Regions from separate parts of the Homo sapiens genome. Here regions 1, 2, 3, 4, 5 and 6 are each linked to region 7. Evidence: promoter capture Hi-C in human tissues and cell types (Jung and others, 2019). All regions are on one chromosome and are shown on one strand. Each heading gives the region's core, a stretch centred on a gene start or on the middle of the fragment in contact. The rest is flanking DNA. Distances are from core to core; before and after follow the strand shown. Region 1 has its middle 210 kb from the start of SMAD2. Region 2 has its middle 260 kb from the start of MIR4527. Region 3 overlaps LOC105372100 (a long non-coding RNA gene). Region 4 overlaps MIR4527HG (MIR4527 host gene). Region 5 has its middle 230 kb from the start of MIR4527. Region 6 has its middle 190 kb from the start of SMAD2. Region 7 holds the start of SKOR2 (SKI family transcriptional corepressor 2).

The links. The method cuts DNA at HindIII sites, captures the fragments that hold promoters and counts their contacts. A contact is called where the count stands out against the background at its distance.
Region 1: a fragment that was not itself captured here is called in contact with the fragment with the promoter of SKOR2 in region 7 in 7 of the 25 tissues and cell types used here (IMR-90 fibroblasts, dorsolateral prefrontal cortex, heart left ventricle and 4 more).
Region 2: a fragment that was not itself captured here is called in contact with the fragment with the promoter of SKOR2 in region 7 in 4 of the 25 tissues and cell types used here (H1 embryonic stem cells, dorsolateral prefrontal cortex, lymphoblastoid cells and 1 more).
Region 3: a contact is called between a fragment that was not itself captured here and the fragment with the promoter of SKOR2 in region 7, in 4 of the 25 tissues and cell types used here (bladder, mesendoderm cells, spleen and 1 more).
Region 4: a contact is called between a fragment that was not itself captured here and the fragment with the promoter of SKOR2 in region 7, in 4 of the 25 tissues and cell types used here (H1 embryonic stem cells, bladder, mesendoderm cells and 1 more).
Region 5: a fragment that was not itself captured here is called in contact with the fragment with the promoter of SKOR2 in region 7 in 2 of the 25 tissues and cell types used here (aorta and mesendoderm cells).
Region 6: a contact is called between a fragment that was not itself captured here and the fragment with the promoter of SKOR2 in region 7, in 1 of the 25 tissues and cell types used here (dorsolateral prefrontal cortex).

What each region holds. Positions count from the first base shown.
Region 1 is chr18:47,722,479-47,725,178 of GRCh38, reverse strand. No RefSeq gene overlaps it. Among named protein-coding and RNA genes, the nearest start is that of SMAD2, 210 kb to the left of the region's middle. The HindIII fragment of the contact is 3,467 bases long and covers 1-2,700 here.
Region 2 is chr18:47,634,664-47,637,363 of GRCh38, reverse strand. No RefSeq gene overlaps it. Among named protein-coding and RNA genes, the nearest start is that of MIR4527, 260 kb to the right of the region's middle. The HindIII fragment of the contact is 4,400 bases long and covers 1-2,700 here.
Region 3 is chr18:47,683,751-47,686,450 of GRCh38, reverse strand. The region is part of intron 4 of LOC105372100 (a long non-coding RNA gene); the gene reads right to left. Among named protein-coding and RNA genes, the nearest start is that of SMAD2, 250 kb to the left of the region's middle. The HindIII fragment of the contact is 3,983 bases long and covers 1-2,700 here.
Region 4 is chr18:47,583,848-47,586,547 of GRCh38, reverse strand. All of the region lies in intron 2 of MIR4527HG (MIR4527 host gene), which reads right to left. Among named protein-coding and RNA genes, the nearest start is that of MIR4527, 200 kb to the right of the region's middle. The HindIII fragment of the contact is 3,652 bases long and covers 1-2,700 here.
Region 5 is chr18:47,607,808-47,610,507 of GRCh38, reverse strand. No RefSeq gene overlaps it. Among named protein-coding and RNA genes, the nearest start is that of MIR4527, 230 kb to the right of the region's middle. The HindIII fragment of the contact is 5,012 bases long and covers 1-2,700 here.
Region 6 is chr18:47,741,330-47,744,029 of GRCh38, reverse strand. No RefSeq gene overlaps it. Among named protein-coding and RNA genes, the nearest start is that of SMAD2, 190 kb to the left of the region's middle. The HindIII fragment of the contact is 3,910 bases long and covers 1-2,700 here.
Region 7 is chr18:47,250,349-47,253,048 of GRCh38, reverse strand. SKOR2 (SKI family transcriptional corepressor 2) reads left to right here and starts at 1,389. Exons shown (of 9, transcript NM_001278063.4): 1 at 1,389-1,675. RefSeq lists an enhancer at 1,005-1,521. The HindIII fragment of the contact is 10,120 bases long and covers 1-2,700 here.

The DNA of each region.
Region 1 (2,700 bases), core at 159-2,658, 470 kb before region 7:
CCACTTAGTAGTTGTGTCACTGGGGCAGGTGACGTGCCATGCAGGAGACCCAAGTATGAGCTTCAGAAGCTTTTGAAATGGATCATACATGATATGCAAAAAGGCAGGCCTTGCATACACCTATTGTTTCATAAAGGTTGAGCAGCTGCACTGCTGCCAATGTGATGAGGCTTACCAAGGGCCTCGCTTGTCATGGTGCAGGAGTGGGAGGCTGCAGGGACTGGCCCAGCTACAGAAGATGGCCCCTGAAAACCACCCAGCAGGAGCTGCAGTGCCCCAGCAGTTCTGCTCTGAAAATTCAAGTCTCATAAAGGCTTGAGCATGGAAGAAGCTTCCTGGCAGGGGCAATTCTCCACACCGAGTTTTGGAGGGAGCTGTCCAGCCGTGACAGGAACCTGGCTGGTGGTTGTGGCTGGGGGTGTGGTCTAGGGAGCAGGACAAAAGCTGGGCCTGGTGTCTCCTCTGAGCCTAGGCTGTAGTCCAACAGGGGTGGGAGGACACAGCAGGCAAGTGCAGTGCACAAGCCCCTCCTGCTCCTCTGGCTGGAGCAGAAGGACAGGAGCAGGCTGGAAATTCTGACACTCTTGGGCCCCTGGGGGGTGAAGGGTGTTTTAATCCCCAGTACGTGTCCGAGTTTGAGCAGGATGGTGGATTCCAGGCCACTGCCGGCCGGTGGGGTCAAGGCTGCCGGTCCTCTGCCAGCAGAGCTGTGGGTGGACTCCATGTCCAGGCTGGGAGAGGCAGGGGAAGATGGGGTGTGGGAGTGATGGGAGCCCTGATTTATGACTGCCTTTGCTGGTTTGTCCACTCTGAGACACTGGCCACACTGGGAATGTGTTGTGGGGGCTGCTCTGCTCTTGGGGTGGCAGCTAAGTGTACAAGCGTGGGGAGCAGGGGCTACATGGCTGTGTTCACACAGGGTCTCACCCTGGGCTGGATGTGATTGAGATCTTCATGTTTCTGGATGATACTGGGGGAGAGAAAGTGACCGCTGTCTTCTCCACCTTCCTTGAACCTGAATCCACAAACCCGAGGCAGGGGGTTTGCTTTCTACAAAGCTGCCCTTCAATAAGTAAAAGTGTGTCTGTGAATGCCCCTTCTAGAACCAAGGGTCCATTTTCTTCCCCACATAAAAGGAAATGAAATGTGCAGGGCTCTAATAAAACATGAAAGGCTTAGGTGTAAGCCGGGAAGCAGGGCTTTGAATGGGATTCGGTGGTCTCAGCTGCTTGGAGGTGTATCTATTATATGTCAAGCAATTAGAAACAGGTTTCTATTAACTGGCTGACTTTGTTTGCAGCTACCAGTGAAATGGACCGCTCTCCCAGTGGCATCTGCCAACCCTTGCACACCTTGGAATCAGTTACAGGTGTTCAGGGTTGTAGGTCTTATATCTATATGTTGAATATGCACATGGTTTTTGCAAAGGCACTGGGACCTTAGTTATAATACTGATACCAGATTGATTGATTTATTCATTCATTTATTCAGCCATGCATGTTCATAAATACCGCATGACCATGTGTGTGCAAATGACATCAAGTAATTCAATAATAGGAGGAAGTAGATAATAATTGTCACCTGTGTGGAACTGATAACTGCCATGGGAGTTTGAAACTGGAGGATTGTTTCTGGGGGGGCGCCATGGAGAAGGAGGATGGAGCTGGATGTTGGGGCTGAGTGAGATGGAGTGAGGCAGGTGGGTCAGAAAATGGCATGAGCCAAAGGGCAGACACAGTCTAGCGGGGACCATGAGGAGGCTGATCTGGCTGAAGGGACAAATGAGGGAGGGTGAGAGAAGGCAGTTTCCATGGGAGGCTGTGGAGGAAGAGCAAATCCAGAGATCCTAATACCTCCTGCTCTCTTCTTATGTTACTGCCACACCCTATTGTGCATGGCCTGACAATGGTTTCTGGCTGGCCTCACTGAAACCAGCCCTGGGGTCACACATGGGAGTGCGCAGTCCCCAAGCTAAGCCTCTGAAGCATATCCCAGGATCCTCCACACTGGTGCATTTGGAAGTCTGTTGAGGAGTCTGCAGGTGGCTGGAGCTCTAGAATCCTCGGTCCACCCCTGAAGAGCTAGGGCAGGGCCTGGTTGCTGAATGTCAGCTCAGCCTAGGAGGAGCTTCTCCATAGCAGAGTGGGTGTGTTTTTTGGTGTGCCCAGGTAGGAACTGGGAGATCCTCTCTTGTGTGGAGGCACTTGTCACGCTGGCTGGACAGTGAGACTAGAGGAAAATCTGGGTTTTCCTTGACTTTCCTGCCAGTGCCTTTGTCTTGTAGAAGAAGCACCATGAAAGGTGCTTGAATGCCAAGCAAAGGGAGGGAAGTTCTGGCAGAGACTGAGAACAGGGTTGCCCTATGCAGCTGCACAGGTTGTCTACTGCACAACCCCAGCAATGCCTTTCATGTAGAACAGAGCCCGTGGGGCTGTGCAGGATGTAATCCCAGCATCCTTGCATGGCAGCCCTGGCCTGGGCGAGGAAGGCTCAACTGGTGGAAGAAGAAATGCCCCTTTAAGAGCATACAGGCCCAAGGGGTAAACTCACCAGCTGTTCAGACACAACTCTCCCTCTTTAGGTTCCCCTTAATGGCATTTGGCATCCCATGGGTCATGGCCAGTCTGTTTCCAAGTTTTACTGAAAGAAAACTTGTGGCTTTGACTGGGATTATCTCTGAAACCCTTCCTCTACCTGCAG
Region 2 (2,700 bases), core at 80-2,579, 380 kb before region 7:
AGACCAGAGCTGTTCCTATTCGGCCATCTTGGCTTGACCTCCCCATTTCCAAATGTATTTCATACCCTATCTATGCAGTGAAAGGTTTACACATTTCTCCATGCTATAAGCTTGGAGTACCTAATCCAGTGGATTGAATAACTACAGGATTCTTGCTCAAATTTCATTAAGCTCTAGAACCAGAATAAGCTGAGGAGTTCAGAATTGTTAAGAGTATAATGGGACAAAAAGTGTTAATGACAAAGAGCAAAAAAGTTGCTGAAGACATATGATGAAAACTTGTGTTGAGTACTTAGTATGTGCCAGGTATTTTCTGAGTCCTTCATGTATAGTAACTCATTTAATCTGAATAGACGAGGAAACTGAGGTTGAAGAATTAGTAAGTGCTATGAACCAAGGCAAACTGACCCCAGACTCTATTAATTACCATTTTCTATTGCCAAAGAGTCTGCTATGAGGTAACAGGATTGAGTTTTAAAAACAATTAGTTCAAAACACCATGCTCAGATGAATGTTGTCTCTTCAGGAGAGACAACAAAGTCCTTCAAAGTAGCTTGTTGGAAGGCTGTCTGTGGGTTTTCACTATGTGGACTTTGCTGAGCATAACTAGAATCATCTTTGGGAATTTCCATCACAATCTTGGCATAAGCCCTCAAATATCTTCATATGTTTTTAATCGTTTAAGGTGGATGTAATTTTTCTAAAAGAGTCAAAAGTTGCTTAGAAATTGGGTGCAGTGGCTCATGCCTGTAATCCCAGCACTTTGGGAGGCTAAGGCAGGCGGGTCATGAGGTCAGGAGTTGGAGACCAGCCTGGCCAACATAGTGAAACCCTGTCTCTACTAAAAATACAAAAATTAGTCGGGCATGGTGGCGCATGCCTGTAGTCCCAGCTACTTGGGAGGCTAAGGCAGGAGAGTCACTTGAACCCAGGAGGTGGAGGTTGTGGTGAGCCGAGATTGTGCCACTGCACTCTAGCCTGGGTGACAGAGTGAGACTGTCTCAAAAAAAAAAAAAAAAAAAAAAAGAAAAGAAAAAGAAATGCAAATTAAAACCATAACAAGATCCACTACAAACACACTAGAATGGCTAAATTATACCAAGTATTGATGAGGATGTGCAGCTACCGAATCACTCATACATTACTGATTGGAATGCAGAATGGGCCAGGCTCTTTGGAAAACACTTTGACAGTTTCTTATTTAATTAAGTATACACTTGCCATATGACAGAAAAGGAAAATAAAAAAAGCATGTCCACACAAATGCCTGTATATGTTTATAGTAGCTTTACTGATAATAGCTTCAAACAGGAAATAACCCAAGTGTCCATCAACAGGTAAGAAAATAAATAATTTTTGATATATTCATACACTGGAATACTACTCAGCAATAAAAAGGAATGAATGACTTGTACATGCAACAACATGGATATGTCTCAAAAGTATTTGCCGAGTGAAGGAAGCCAGACACAGAAAGCTTCAAATTATCTCATTTGATCTTTCCCCACACTGTTATCATCCTTATTTTAAAGGTGAAGAAACTGAGCATAGAGCAGTTAAGTTTAAGTCACATAGGCAGTAAGTTTTATAGAGCCCGACATTGAAGGGTGTGTTCTTAGTCGTTGTGTTACTCTGAAGGCTTCTGCCAACCACAGCCCCTGTGATAAACACTCAGACACTTTCCCAACCAGCCCTGAGACACTTGGGCCGGTTGTAACAGAAATGGAATCAGCTGTCAGAAGGGTGTGACAACACCCCCAAAGTGTAGTGCCACTCTGATAAAGCCCATGCCAATTGCTAGGGACGCAGCCTGCCCTGCAGCTCAGCTCACCCAGGTTATACATCTCCACTTCTAAAAAATAAATTAGGCAGGTAATAAGGATTATCTCTTTTAAAATTTGAGTTCCCATTGAAAAGACAATTGGATACGAGTGGAGGCTTGGGTTCGAATCATTGTTGTCCTCCTGCCTCCAAGAAGCTTTCAATTCCAACGCCCCCAGGCCCAGGCCAGGTACCCTTCCCCATGACACCACAGTGTCCCACACTTGTCTCTGTCTCAACTTGTCTTTGACCTAGTGCTTCTTTATGTGTCTATTTTCCCCACAAGAGCATGAGTGGCTTGGTGGCAAAGAGGGCTCTTACCCCAGTGCCTGGCACATCACAAATGCTCAAGAAGTGTTTACAAAATAAAAGGAATTAATATTTACTTACTATGTAAATTGGCCACCCAGTTAATAAACAGACATTTATTGATTATTTATGATTGGGCAGTTCCGTGGAGGATACATGTAAGAAACTGTTCTTGTTCATGGAATTTACTCACAAATTTTATTATTAAGAAATAAAAACAAGTATGTGAGGCAGAGCATATAACAGGTACTAAAAGAGTGGCCCCGACAGTAAGTTCTGGCAAAGGAGGGAGGGACCATGCAGGTTGAGGGATCCAGGAGGTTTCTGATCTGTACATGTCTGTGTCCCAGGTACTTAGGGTGGGACATGGAAGTAATTGGGGGAGTAGTTTTGTCATTTCCATGGCTGGAAGAAGTCACCTCTAAGTAGAAGAAGGGAAGCTTGTGAGCATCTTCAGTTTCACTGAGCTCCCATAATAGTAGAAATTGCAAGTTCAGGACTCTGGTCAGACCACATGGGGAGTTTTATATCTTTGCCCAGGAAGATTTACAAATGCATGCAGTTTCAAAG
Region 3 (2,700 bases), core at 10-2,509, 430 kb before region 7:
TTTCACAGAGGGGGAGACTCAGGACCCAGAGAGGTGAAGGAACTTGTCTAGGGTCACCTAGCTTGTCTGAGAAGGAGCTCTGACACAGCAGTGCATGACACCACTGTGACTTAAGACTGCCATTTCCCTGTGGCAGTGGAAGAGTTGACCTAAACTTAATGGAAACCCCCATGACACTTCCAAGGGATCACTGAGAGTCGGCTCATTGGTCCATACATTCATGAATCAGTCACACCCACACCTCTTAGCTTGGCATCCATGGTCTTCCATAATCAGGCTTGATTCTCTCAGTTTTTGGGGGTTGTCTGCTAGTCCTGTCTACTGTAACTCTTTTACTTCTATAAGAATGTTCTCTACTGCATTGTCCTCCAAATGCACCCTGAATCTTTAATCCTTTGGGCTTCCACAAAATCTGAAATAATAATAAGACCTGGTATTCATCTAGTATATTTTATAGGTATTTATTTACTATGTTCCGGGCACCATCCCCTCAAAATTTATTTGTATTAATTCATTTAGCTTCACAGCAACGCTGTCTAATATGTTTTATTCATATTCTCATATAACAGATGAGAAAACTGAGGGACAGAGAGCTTAATCCAGGCAGTCTGCTTCTGGAACCTGCACTTCTAATCATTAGAATATGCTGCCTTTCTGGACTGATGTTTTCTTTCAAATGTATTCATCTTGCAAGACCCATGTCACATTGTTTCTTCCCCAGGAAGCTTTCCCTGCTGTAGGAGATTGTATTATTATTCTCAGATACTTTCTGTTCTTTCCTGAGGATAATTATATCTCCCTGTTCCATCAATGGTTGGCTTGGGCATGTGACTTGCTTTGGTCATAACATGAGTGGAATGACACTCAGTGTGAATCTCATTCCATGAACTGTGAGGGGACATGACAAGTATTACAGTCCAAGGAGAAGCTTTACCAACTGGTTTTCTCTTTTCTCTCTATCATGACAAATAGAAATGTCCTGGATAGAGACTGCTCCATCAGCCTGGGTTCAAACGAAAACGATGGAACAGAGCATAGCTTGTTCATGTGCAGTGAGCTGGAAATCAATCTGATACAGACTGTTGCTGTTGTCAGCCACAGACAGTTTGGAGTCATTGGTTACTGCAGCATAACCTAGCCTATTCTGACTTACACACCTGCTCTTGTATCCCCATAGATCCCTTGCCCCAGCAGTCACTCCTGTTCCTGCTGGAAGTTCCTGACTTACATGATTTGCTAACTTGTCAAATCTTTTTCTCCCCTACAGGCTTGTCAATGCCTCCAGGGCAAGCTACATGCCTTACGCTTGTTTGCTTCCCCACTCCTTCCCCACACTTAGAACAGTCTAGGTACATAGTAGGCTCTTAGTATGTGAGTAACTATTGAGTTCTTGATATATATATATATAAAAATATATAAAATATATATAATATATATAAAATATATATATAAAATATATAATAGATAATATATATAAAATATATATAATAGATAATATATATAAAATATATATATAATATATTAAATATATATTATATATAAAATATATATTATATATAAAATATATATTTTATATATTATATATATAATATATATAATATATATAATATATATAAAATATATAAAATATATATAATATATAATATATATAAAATATATATAATATATATAATATATATAAAATATATATAATATATATAAAATATATATATATAAAATATATATATTATATATATTTTTTTTTTATGAAGGAGGACATTTCACAGAGATCCCATGGGGCCAGGCCACAGGTTCTGGTGACCCTTTCCCACTTCTCCTTATCGCTTTCTTTAACCAATCTTCTCTCAAAGCCATCCTCTGTGCTTTCCTCCCTTTGTCCATGTGCTGGAGACCTAGAAGAATAGTGAGGAGTCTTGCCTCACTATAGGTCTTCTCAGGGCTCTCTCTCTCTCTCTCTGTGTGTGTGTGTGTGTGTGTGTGTGTGTGTGTGTGTGTGTGTGTGTGTGGTGTGATCAAAGAGCAAAGAGCCCAGCCACCAATCCCATTCCTAAGTCCCCCATCTTCCTCCATGGCACCCCATCCAGGTCTAGGTCCAGCCTTAACACCTTGGGTCCTTGCTGCCTCACCTCTGAACACTGGGGGCTGAGTCAGAGGAGCTCTCCAAGTTCCTTGCAGGCCTAAGAGCCATGAGTTCAGGCTCATGTTTATGGCAGAGGAATAACTAGTGAGGAGAGGGAATGGGGCTGATATCTCTGCCACCTTCCTAGGGTGCAGATTTGAGAAGGAACTCACTGTCAGAGGCATGCAAATGCCAGCTCTACACTTTCTTCAATTTTGCTCCCTAGGAGCCTCACTCACCTCACCTAGTCACCCTAAATAAAACAGGATAATAGGAAATTGAGTATGAATTGAGGGATGAAGCTAGGCCTTCCTGTCCAAACTCCTCCCTCAGCACTGTGGTGAGTCACTGGCCACTTAACTTCAGCTCAACTTGTTTGGCTGATGCTGGTTTAAGAGTCTGTAGCCCCCTATGAGAATGCAAACATTCCAGGACTTATGTGTAGTAGCCATCAGCCAGCACTTCATGGAGTGTAGTCAACCAAGGGTTTTGAGTAATAGGGCACAGTCTTAGGCTCCTTAGAGGAGTTCTGTGGAATAAGAGAGATCCTGAAAGGTAGAGGTATTTGAAAGAACAAATAT
Region 4 (2,700 bases), core at 180-2,679, 330 kb before region 7:
GAGTAGTAACAGCCTTTAACCACATGAAAATATGTGACAGGCCCCTGGCAATTCATGCTTTCCAAGAGGTTTTTATCGTATTTATTTCATTTGATTCTGTGGCATAGACAGGGCAGGTATTGCCATTTTACACATGAGGAAACTGAGGCCCAGAGAGGTTAAGTTCACAGCACTAGTGTAGAATTCCTCAGCAGATAGAATTCTCCTTGTCTGAAAAGAGGCCAAAGAGTCAGCACCTGTGAGGTGTCAGACACTTGCGAGATCCCTAGATACCTCAGCGAGGGCTCAGCCATGCAGAGATGGATAGGGGGCCTGTGAGGGGGCAGACAACAAACAACTCACTAAACTGAGATCCCCACACGTTGTTGTAACTTCCATGGAGGAAATACATGTAGGAACACCTTCAAGATGGCTGGGAATGTAACTCTCAGAGGCCAGCATGTCATTTGAAAACCAAGTGGTAGGAAAGGGGCAGTACAGGAGACGAGAAAGAGACATTGCTTGGTGGAAGCAGCAAGCCCTGAAGTATCAGCGTCCTGAGAGGACATGGTTTGTATCCTCAGGCAAGAGGAAGGAACCCAGTGAGGGACCAGCGTGGAGTAGGGAGGGGAGGAGAGACTGGTTGAGTAGACAGGGGCCAGAGTATTTCAGGCCTTCTAGGCCAGGTAAGATATATGCATACTATCAAATGCACCTTTACACCCATATACACAAACATGGGCATCTGCACACCCAACCACACATACGCACACATGTGTGTGCTTAACATGTTCACATGTGCACTGACACACATACATAAACTTACCTGAAAATGCATGTACACACAGAAGCACAAATACACAACTCTCTTACACACATTATCATCTGCACTTAAACACACTTGCTCACCTATCCACACTGATTGCACCCACATGCACATTCATATCTGCACAAAAGCACTCACACACACTCTCCTGCACATGTGTGCTTTGTTTCACAGATGCACACATTTCTACATGCATGCACACTTGCCCACTCACACATAGCTACTCACATGTGCATGTGTACAGCCTACAACAAGCCCAGCTCAGATAAGCTCTCAGCCACAGATAAACTTCTCTGCTGGTTGGTTATAATCTTTCATTGGAACTGACACGTTGATAGCCCCAGTTTTTCTAGGAAGTGACCTTCATGCCAGCTATTGATTTCTAGTGACTATCAGGCGCCTGCCACTGGAGTGACAGGCCCGGTCAGAGGTCAGCCCTTAAATAAAGCTTCTGGATTACTAAGCACCAGCCACTCTAATGAAAATGGAAATTGGCATCCCTGGCTCCCTTTTATGTGGAGTGTTTCCGCTGATGGGGTTTCAGCTCCGAGTGACCACCTGCACCCCCTCTCCCAGACCCAGGGTGCTGTGGGTGCCCACAGGTGTGTGTTTTACCAGGGAGCTGGACCAAAGGCTATAGGTGGTGACAGCTACCACGGCCTGAAGCTTCCTGGATTCTGCCTTCTAGCAACATCCGGGGCTGTCCCTATAAGCTTGACATTCAAGTAACAGACAATTGCTACAGGCCCCAAGACCCACAGGTGACCGGCTTTGTGGTCTTGGGCAGGTGGTGTCATCTCTCTGAGCTTTGGTTACTTCCACCCTTTCTGCCTCATCCACACATACTTGTTCATCTCCTCCCATTTCACAAGGCTGGGATCCAAATAAATGAAGAGGAAGTGTACCAAGTTGTATACAAAACAGCACAAGATGATGCTACTAGTATCCCTGTTTTAAAAACATCACAATTATGAATTATAAAATTCTACTTAATTAAATCACATGTTTATTTGATGATCCAGTAGCCTTTCTTGTTGCTGCAGCATCTTGGGGTCTTGTGGCAAGCAAAAGTTATGGGATGGGAAGGAGCTGAAGGAAGCTTTGCCTTTTGCTTCTCCTGCCAGGAACACAGAGTTCCCACTGCCTCACCTGGTATTCCGGACTTGTGACAGCCTTCCAGCTGATCACAATCAAACCTATCAGCCAAACACCATCTCTGAAACATGCCCTGTGTTTCTACTCCCATTAGTACCTACGCCCCCCACCAACACCGTCCACCCCCGTGGCTTCGCCCTGAATGCACCTTCTCTCCCCTCTATCTGTGTGAGCACACCACCCCCAGACTAGCCTACAATCCTCCTCCTCCTTGCAGCCTGCCCAGATCACATAGCTCATACAATCCAGGAATCCACGAATAGTCCTTTCTCCTCTTTGGCTTCAGGAAGTGCATTCAGCCTTCCTTCTGAATAATTTTCACCTCAAATATAGATTTACCACAACAAAAAACCTTGTCTTGAATAATGTGGATTGGAAAAAGCAGAAAAGGCTGCCAGCCGCCAGCTTCCTAGTATCCCTCCAGTGCAAACATCTGTCCCTTCCTGACTCTACCTGTACATCTAATGACCTTTCTGGCCTGTGTGTTCCTTTGGAACAGGGGTCATAAAATGAAGTTTGCATGTCCTGAAGGGAAGATAAGCAGAAATTAGAAATGTCATCAAATTAATTATTTGGCAAAGGAAGTGATTTGTTTAACAACATCAGGGAAGCAAGAGTTGCTGGTGGACCCTGAAACTCAGATAAATCACCCATGTTGAAGGGAAGAAGCCCAAGCAATCTAGGTGAGTCCATCGGCCAGACCCTTGGCCACAACTTGCACCAGACCAGAACCAACTGGG
Region 5 (2,700 bases), core at 3-2,502, 360 kb before region 7:
ATATATAAAGCTTCTAGAATAATGCCTGACATATAGTAGATGCTATATAATATTTCTTTTATTGCTAGTATTTTATCTTGGAGATTGTTCCATAGTAAGCATGTAGCACTACCTCATTCTTTTTTCCGCTTTATTCTTTTTAATAGTTATAGAGCATTCTATACTACACATAAACTATGATTATTTAATCAGTTCTCTGTTTGACATTTGAGATATTTTTAGTGAATGCTCTTACATGTAATTTTGTGCTCACATATATGTAACTATATCTGGGTTTATGAAATAATTTTATACATACATAATTTCAAACAATATGTTCTTTGAATATATTTGTCAAAGAATATATTTAATACAATATTTTAAAAAGACAGATATTTGCAGTTTCCAAATCCTAGTACATTCCCATCAATAGCATTTGAAAGTGTCTGTCTCTACAAACTTATCAATTAAGTGTATTATCAAATGTTTTGATGTGGTTAATCTGTTAGTTTCTAATTTTAGAAAAATTGGCATTGTTCTTATTGTGAGTTAGACTTTCTTTTTATATGTATAAAAACTATCTATATTTTATTTTCTCTTCATGTTCCCTTGCCAATTTTTGTATTGGATAGTTAAGTTTTTCTCTTATTGATCTGTAGACACCATCTATATATTTAGGTTATTAGCACCATGTCATTTATATTGCAAATATTTTTTTTCTTAGTTTGTTGTCTTTTGACTTTGTTTATGGCATTCTTTTCCGAGTAGAAAATTTTAATTTTAATGTATTCAAATTTATCATTCTTTTCTTTTATGGACTGTTTGTTTTACGTCCTGTTTAGAAAGGGCTTCCCTCCTATATTTAAAATGTTCTCTCTATGCTTTATTGAATTATTTGAAGTTGAGTAGTGTTAAGATGAGATTAAAGTTAGAGAAATGCTGCTCTCTGGCTATCATTTAAAGAACAGATGGAAGGGGAACAAGACCAGAGACAGGGAACTGGCTCGGAGGCTTTCATACTGATTAAAATGAGACTATGAAAGGCCGAGCTTAAGCAGGAGGAAAAGCAGAATCCAGAGTGTTTAGAAGATATCATCAAAAGGACTTAGTGATATGAAGGTAAGAGGCAAGGAGACATCTACACCACACCCAGGCTTCTGGCTTGGGCCAGACTGGCTTCTTCTTTGGCCCTTGTGTTATTGCATTTCTCTTGACTCTTGTGTCCTGGCTTCCCATGATACCTGGCATCTCTCAAGTTTAGGAGCACCTCAGAGATCTCTCTGGTTCTCTGTAGAACCTAGGCTAGTGAACACACCAAAGAGGGCTGTGAAACATTTGTGTCTGAGCCACACTAGAGTGTCTTCAGAGGAGGAGGTCATATTTGCTGTTGCCTGTGATAAACTGGTGAGTAACAATATGTTCTCCTGACTTCTTGAATGGGCAGGAAGGTATTCTTAGTCCAGCTTGCAATGCGCTTGGGAAGGGGGCAGGAGGTTCTAGTGCCCTAAGCTCATGACCTGCCTACAGGACTTCTTCACCCATGTAGCCCACTGGCACATAAAACTCTGTGTTATCACCCCTGCCCTATAAGTCTCCACTGAATTAATGGAACCATCATCCATCCAGGCTCCTAAGCTAGAAATCTCCACCATCCCTAACCTCTCCTTCTTCCTTATACACCTCAGCACAGAAATCTTCAAATCCTGGCAATTATTCCTCCAAAGTAGCTTCAAACCCTCTATTCATCTCCATGGTTGCTGCCTCAGTTCAGACTTTGTCTCCTACTTTGTGGACTCTAGTGGCCTCCTAATCAGTCTCCCTGCCTCACTTCCTTCTATTTCCTCTCTATCTCATTGGCTACAGTGATTGCTCAGAAAATGGAGGTGACAAGGTCACTCATCTACTTAAATGCCATAGTGATTAATGAATAAGTAATGTAGGCCAGGTGCAGTAGGTCACGCCCATAATCCTAGCACGCTGGGAGTCCAAGGTGGGTGGATCCCTTGAGCCCAGGAGTTTGAGACCAGCCTGGGCAACATGGCAAAATCCCATCTCTACAAAAAATACAAAAATTAACCAGGTGTGGTGGTGTGCACCTGTGGCCCCAGCTACTTGGGAGGCTAAGGTGGGAGGATCACCTGAGCCCAGGAGGCAAGGTTTTGGTGAGCCATGATTACACCACTGCACTGCAGCCTGGGTGACAGAGTGAGACCCTGTTTCAAAAAAAAAAAAAAAAAGAAAGAAAAAGAAGAATAAGTAATGTACTTGGTATACAAGAACTTTTATAACCTGGTTCTTCCTCTGTCAACACCCCATGTTGCCCCTGAACCCTTCTCTGTTCCCAGACAGAATAAGTCCTCACACATCTCTGTGCCTTTGACCTTGCTATAGGAGGAAGAATAATGGTTCCTCAAAGATGTTCATGTTTGAATTCCTGGAATCTGTGAATCTGCTACTTTTTATGGTAAAGGTGAATTAAGCTTGTTAATCAGTTGACCAGTTGAACATACAATAGGGAGATTATCCTGGAGTATCAAAGTGGGCCCAATGCCATCACAAGGTGCTTAAAGTTGGAGAAGGGAGACAGACGAGGAGGTCAGAGTGATGCCATGTGTGAAAGACTCAACTTGCTGTTGTTGGCTTTGAAGATGGGAAGAAGGGGCTGTGAACCAAGGAATGTGGGCAATCACTAGAAGCCAGAAAAAGTAGGGGAATGGATCC
Region 6 (2,700 bases), core at 29-2,528, 490 kb before region 7:
GGGCCAGGTGTGGTGGCTCATGCCTCTAATCCCAGCATTTTGGGAGGTTGAGGCAGGAGGATCACTTGAGCCCAGGAGTTCGAGGCTGCAGTGAGCTATGATGGTGGCATTGCACTCCAGCCTGGCAGTCAGAGCAAGACCCTGTCTCTAAGAAAAAAAAGAAAAGAAAAAAACAGAAAAAAAATCATGAAGAAGAGGAAATCTATTTATTATTTACTAAGTGGAAGTGGAGCATCATGTCGAGTAGGCTGAGGAGGAGGAAGAGGAAGGGTTGGTTTTGCTGTCTCAGGGGTGGCAGAGGCGGAAGGAGACCTGCCTGTAAGTGGATCTGTGCAGTGCAAACCCATGTGGTTCAAGGGTCAACTGTATATTCACTCCCTGGGGCTTCTGTAACAAATTATCACAAACTGAGTGGCTTAAAACAACAGAAATTTAATTATCACAGTTCTGAAGTGTAGAAGGGTTGATTCTTCTTGGAGGCTGTGAGGGAGAGCCTGTTCCATGCCTCTCTCCTAGCTTGGGTGGCTCCTGTCAACCCTTGGCACTCCTTGGCCTGCAGCTCCATGATCCTGCTCTTTGCTTCCATCTCCACATAGCCTTCTCTGTGTCTCTGCATTCTTTCCTTTTCTTATAAGGACCCCAGTCCTTGGACTTAGGGCCCACCCTAAAAGATCCCATCTCAAGATCCTTAATTATATCTGCACACACCCTCCTTGCAAATAAGGTCACACTAACAAGTGCTGGGGGTTGGGTCTGGGACTTAAATGTGTCTTTTTGGGTAACTCACTCCAACCCACTACGCATAGGAACAAGAATTGGATTGATATCATATTCCTCATTAGCACAATTGGATACAAGAAAATAATGGAGCAATGTTTTCAAAGCTCTGAGGGGAAATGGCTTTGAACATAAATGATCATTCAAGTGCGAGGGTAAAATGAAGCTACATCAGACAAGTAAGGGTTCAGAACATTTACCAGCCTTCCAGTTCTTCTTTGGAAGAATTATTGTCTTTGGCTAGTGTGTAGGATGCCTGCCTTCCTCCATCTCCTCCCCTGTCAGCAAGGAAAAAGTATCCCAAATAGCCTGGCATTAATACCTTTACAACATTAAGATATTGATATATAAAAATACTAACATATTGATATATAAAATATTAATATATTTATGTTGTTTAACAAACTATTACAGTTATTTAGACAAAAATATTATTAGATAACATAAGAGAGTGGTTTGTTATCCTGTTCTCCCCATCCTAAATCTGCACTCCCCAGAGTAACCCCTCTCAACTCTTTTAGCTATTTAATCTGCTATTTACTTCTATATTTTAAAATTTCTTGCATAGGTAGCTATTTCTTGATTTCTCAGTTTTAAGAGTTATTGATTGACTTTCAACCACAGATAATTAAATTTTAGCTCTTTACACACCCATTTGCTCTCTCACCAAACACACAAACTATCCTTCCCCCATCCTCCAATAGAGCTGTATCACAATTTTTCATAAAAGTCACTAGTTGGGTATTTATATTAGTATGAGCATATAAATATTCATAGCTAAGCCATGTAGGGTGCTATGAGTATAATTCTTTTTTCTTCCTCCTGGATTGATACTTGCTTTTGTTTTCATTTGCTTAGTTTATAACTTGTTAGTGTATTGCAAATCTATTCCTAAATTCTTCTACAGAATTGAAAATCTCTTTAGAATATGTTGAAATATGTTAACTATTTGATTAGCTATCATCCTGGGATTTTTCTTCACCTCTTTTCTTGGTGGGATTCTTGGGTCCCATGTCTTTCTTTTTCTAGGTTTACTTCCTTATTTTGGAGATCTGTATCATTCAGTAGTTTCCTGTGAAAAATGAAAAACTCTCACTCTTGGCAGTTTGGTTGGTTATAGAATTATAAATTGGAGAATATTTTTCTACCCTCTTTGAAAGCATTGTTTCGTTGTCTTTTAGCTTCCAGTATTGCTATAGATATTCTGATTCTGAATCATTTGGATATGATCTTTTATTTTAAATGGGATCTTTTTCTACACTCTGGAAGCTTTTAGGGTCTTCTGTTGATTAATCTCTTTAAAAGACTGGGATGCCCTTCTTTTTCTTTCTGCATGTAAAGAGATGTGATGGTTGCAGTCCTAGCAGCCATACTGAACCATGAGATAATGTTGGAAGAAGCAGCCCTGTTCTGCAAAGCAATAAGATAGAACAAGCCTGAATTTCTGACATCATGCAGAGTCATTGCCATTGAGCTGTCTTTCACTTGAGAGAAAAATACATTTCTACACTTTTAAATTACTATTTTGTGTGCTCTTTGTTTAACAAAGCTAAACATTTCTGAATGATAATATGGACACAATAACATATTTTCCTTCACGAAATCACTTTTAAAACACTTTCAAATAACTCTCAATGCTTCTATGATAAAAATACACAATTACTTTCTGCCCAAATTTATCTGAATAAAATTGAGATGGGCATTATATAATTGAGCATCTTACATACAACAAATACAGGAAAAGACTGAATCTGGAGGAAAACATAATAAGGTTAAAAGAAGCTAGTAAAACTTGTTGTTTATTGTAAAAATGTTTAAAAGCTGAAAACCACCCAGAAAAATTTCAGATGCCATCATGGGGGATAGCAGGGTTGAGGCGGTGAGGAACCGAGGGAGGGATGGGCAGTCGGTTTGTTCTTAGTT
Region 7 (2,700 bases), core at 140-2,639:
AAACGTTTCGATTTTCATGTCTCTGTAACTGTGTTTTCAGGATATTAATTTAAAATAGACACAACTCCTGAGCAACAAGCCCCTCACGTTTCTGTTCAATTGACTTTCCTTGGGTTTATTAACCTTTGATGAAGGTTAAGATTTCACATTTTTGCTCTTGTATTTAGGAGTGGTATGTTGTTGGTGCTATGACACAATCTGGGTGGGCTTTCAGCTTGGTAGATGTTTTTCCATCATTTCCACAATGCTAGGACTGTTTCACTAGGCAGCAATTGAAAATTCAGCTATGGTAGTAAAGGAAAAACTTAAAGGATTTCCCAGCCCCACCCCAGCCGGCATCCTTCTTAGAACATACTCCAAATAAGTGGTTTCTTTCCTTTCCGATAAACTAGCCAGTGGTCGTTTTGACTCTTAACAGCTGGTCAATTGGGACGCACTATATTGACACTTCATTAATACACTAGGGTGCGCCTCATTTAGGGAAACTGTGAGGAAATGTTTTCTCATCCTAGTCTTTATTTTAGGGGAGGAGATCATGCTTCTACATGTTTTCCTGATTAAATTTATTTATTTCTCCAGGAAAATTGGCAACTTGCTGAAGGACTCTTCCATGTGGGGGACCTCCCTGCTTCCCTGCCCCACCCTTTCCTTGTGTAGAGGTAGCCTTACGGATCTTGTAAAATGGGTTAGAGGACGATTCTGAATGAAGTTTGATAAATCGATGTGCATATGCACATATTGGGGTCCTCACCTAATTGTACACTCCATAAAATAGAGAAGGCTGCAGTGACTCTGCATCTTGTCCTATAAAGCAAATGTATATGCAAAAGTCGGGGCACTCCAAGTTTTCTGATTGGGCACCCTATGTGGAAACTTCTCTCCTTTTTCTCATTTCATAGCGTTTCAAAGGAGTCACTGAAGCTAATTTATTCTCCAGCTGACTGTGGATTCTGTCTTCAGACACAGAGCAGCTTTGCATCCTGTACCAGAGGGATCATTCATGAAGGAGGGTGACTCAGAAATGAGGGGAGGAGACAATAACGGTCAGGGATATAGTTAATTTGGAGGCGTCCTTCTAGAATCCGGGGCCTCCAGGATCTAGGTCCCGGGATGCAGGCAGACTGTTCGCTTTCCACTCCTAAATCAGATCTGCGGCTCCAGCACCATTGCTGCAGTTTACTCCGGGGCTGAGGAGGTTGTTGTCAATTGCGAGTTGGTTAGGTTGGTAGCTTTCGTGCCTGCTGAGAAAGGATCTCTCTGTTGCTCGCGCTGGCTTTCGCTCTCCCCCTCCCTCCCTGTAACATGCCAGCCCTTTAATGTGGAGTGTCAGGGAGACGGTGACGTCACCCTGCCCGCTGGGTGGCGTCCCCTCGGTCCGACACGAGTTCAGAGACAGACGCTGTCAGACTGCGCTCCACTTGGGGCTCTCCTGCCGCGGGTTTCTGCGTACCCACACTTTCTGCGGTGGAGGGGACGCCCCGCCGCAATTCAGGCCGTCATTCTCCCCAGGCCGGGGTTTGAGCGCCATTCGCTCGGGCCAGAGCCCGGATCTTCGCGCGGAGCCCGCCAGAGTCCCGCCCGCTGGATACGAGGACCCGCTTGGATGCTTCGCCTCCGAGCGCCCTCGGAAGATGGGCCGGCAGCCACACGCCTAAAGACACCCAGAGGTTACCAGGTATTGCCGGAACCGGCCGCCCCAATCCGGCACACAGCTTGCTGGGCACCTATTTGAGATCCCCAGCGGTAGGATTTTCCGCGTTAGGTTGAGGGGCAGCGGTGGGCTTCCGTGGTGACTGGTTTGGGAGTCGGGAGAACTAAGTTGGGGGTGGGGGGGTCTTTGGCTGTTGGGCAGGATAGGGAAGTTCACCAGGTTCCTTTCTCAGTTCAACTAACTTTTAATTGTCTCTTCTCCCCTCCCCACCCACCCAAAAAATAATGCCCCAACCAAAACCTTGTGTCTGCTCTGACGGCAGTTTCTGGGAGGGCTTGGGGTAAAAGTGAGGAGACACTTCTGCCTGGTCTACTGCTGCTAAGGCTGCGAGTCCTTAACGCAGAGCCAGCTTCCCGCCCCGGCTGGCCAGCCGCGCGCCTTGCTGGGGAGCGAGAGTTGGAATTATCCCAGGGTCTTATTAAGCGGATATGAATCTTGTTTGGTAGGGAAATGAGCATCGAAGGGCCACCTGACGAAGCTAGTGTTGGTTGTATCAGACTCGGGTGTCACTGCGCCTTGAACTGCCATGTAACGCCCTGTCCCCTGGAAATATTGTCTCTGATCCACCCAAAGTGACAAGCAGGCTTTCCTCTCCTTTGATCGCGTCGAGGTTTGTTCAAGCTTCCTGGAGGCCGCCAAATGTAATGAGAACTGAGGATCCAGGGGGCAGCAGGACAGAGGCTGCTGTATAGATGCCACAGGGGCCCAGAGAGAGGACACGGATAAGAAATTGGGTGAGGGAGTAAGATCGTGTACCCTCTGAAAGCACTGTAATAGCGAACTCGCTGTACGTGGCCGAAAGGGGCCACGCTATGGCCTCTGGTGATTTTTCAGGGCAAAGCATGCCTTGGCCAATGCGCTTGAGATGTAGCTGTGGAAAGATCAGTGTTTGTTTTCCTAGGGAGTGAGCCACTTTCCTTCTTTCCACTTAGTGGCATTGTCACTAAAATTTCTTTCCGCTTCCTTGTTCTGTATTTTCAACTTACTGA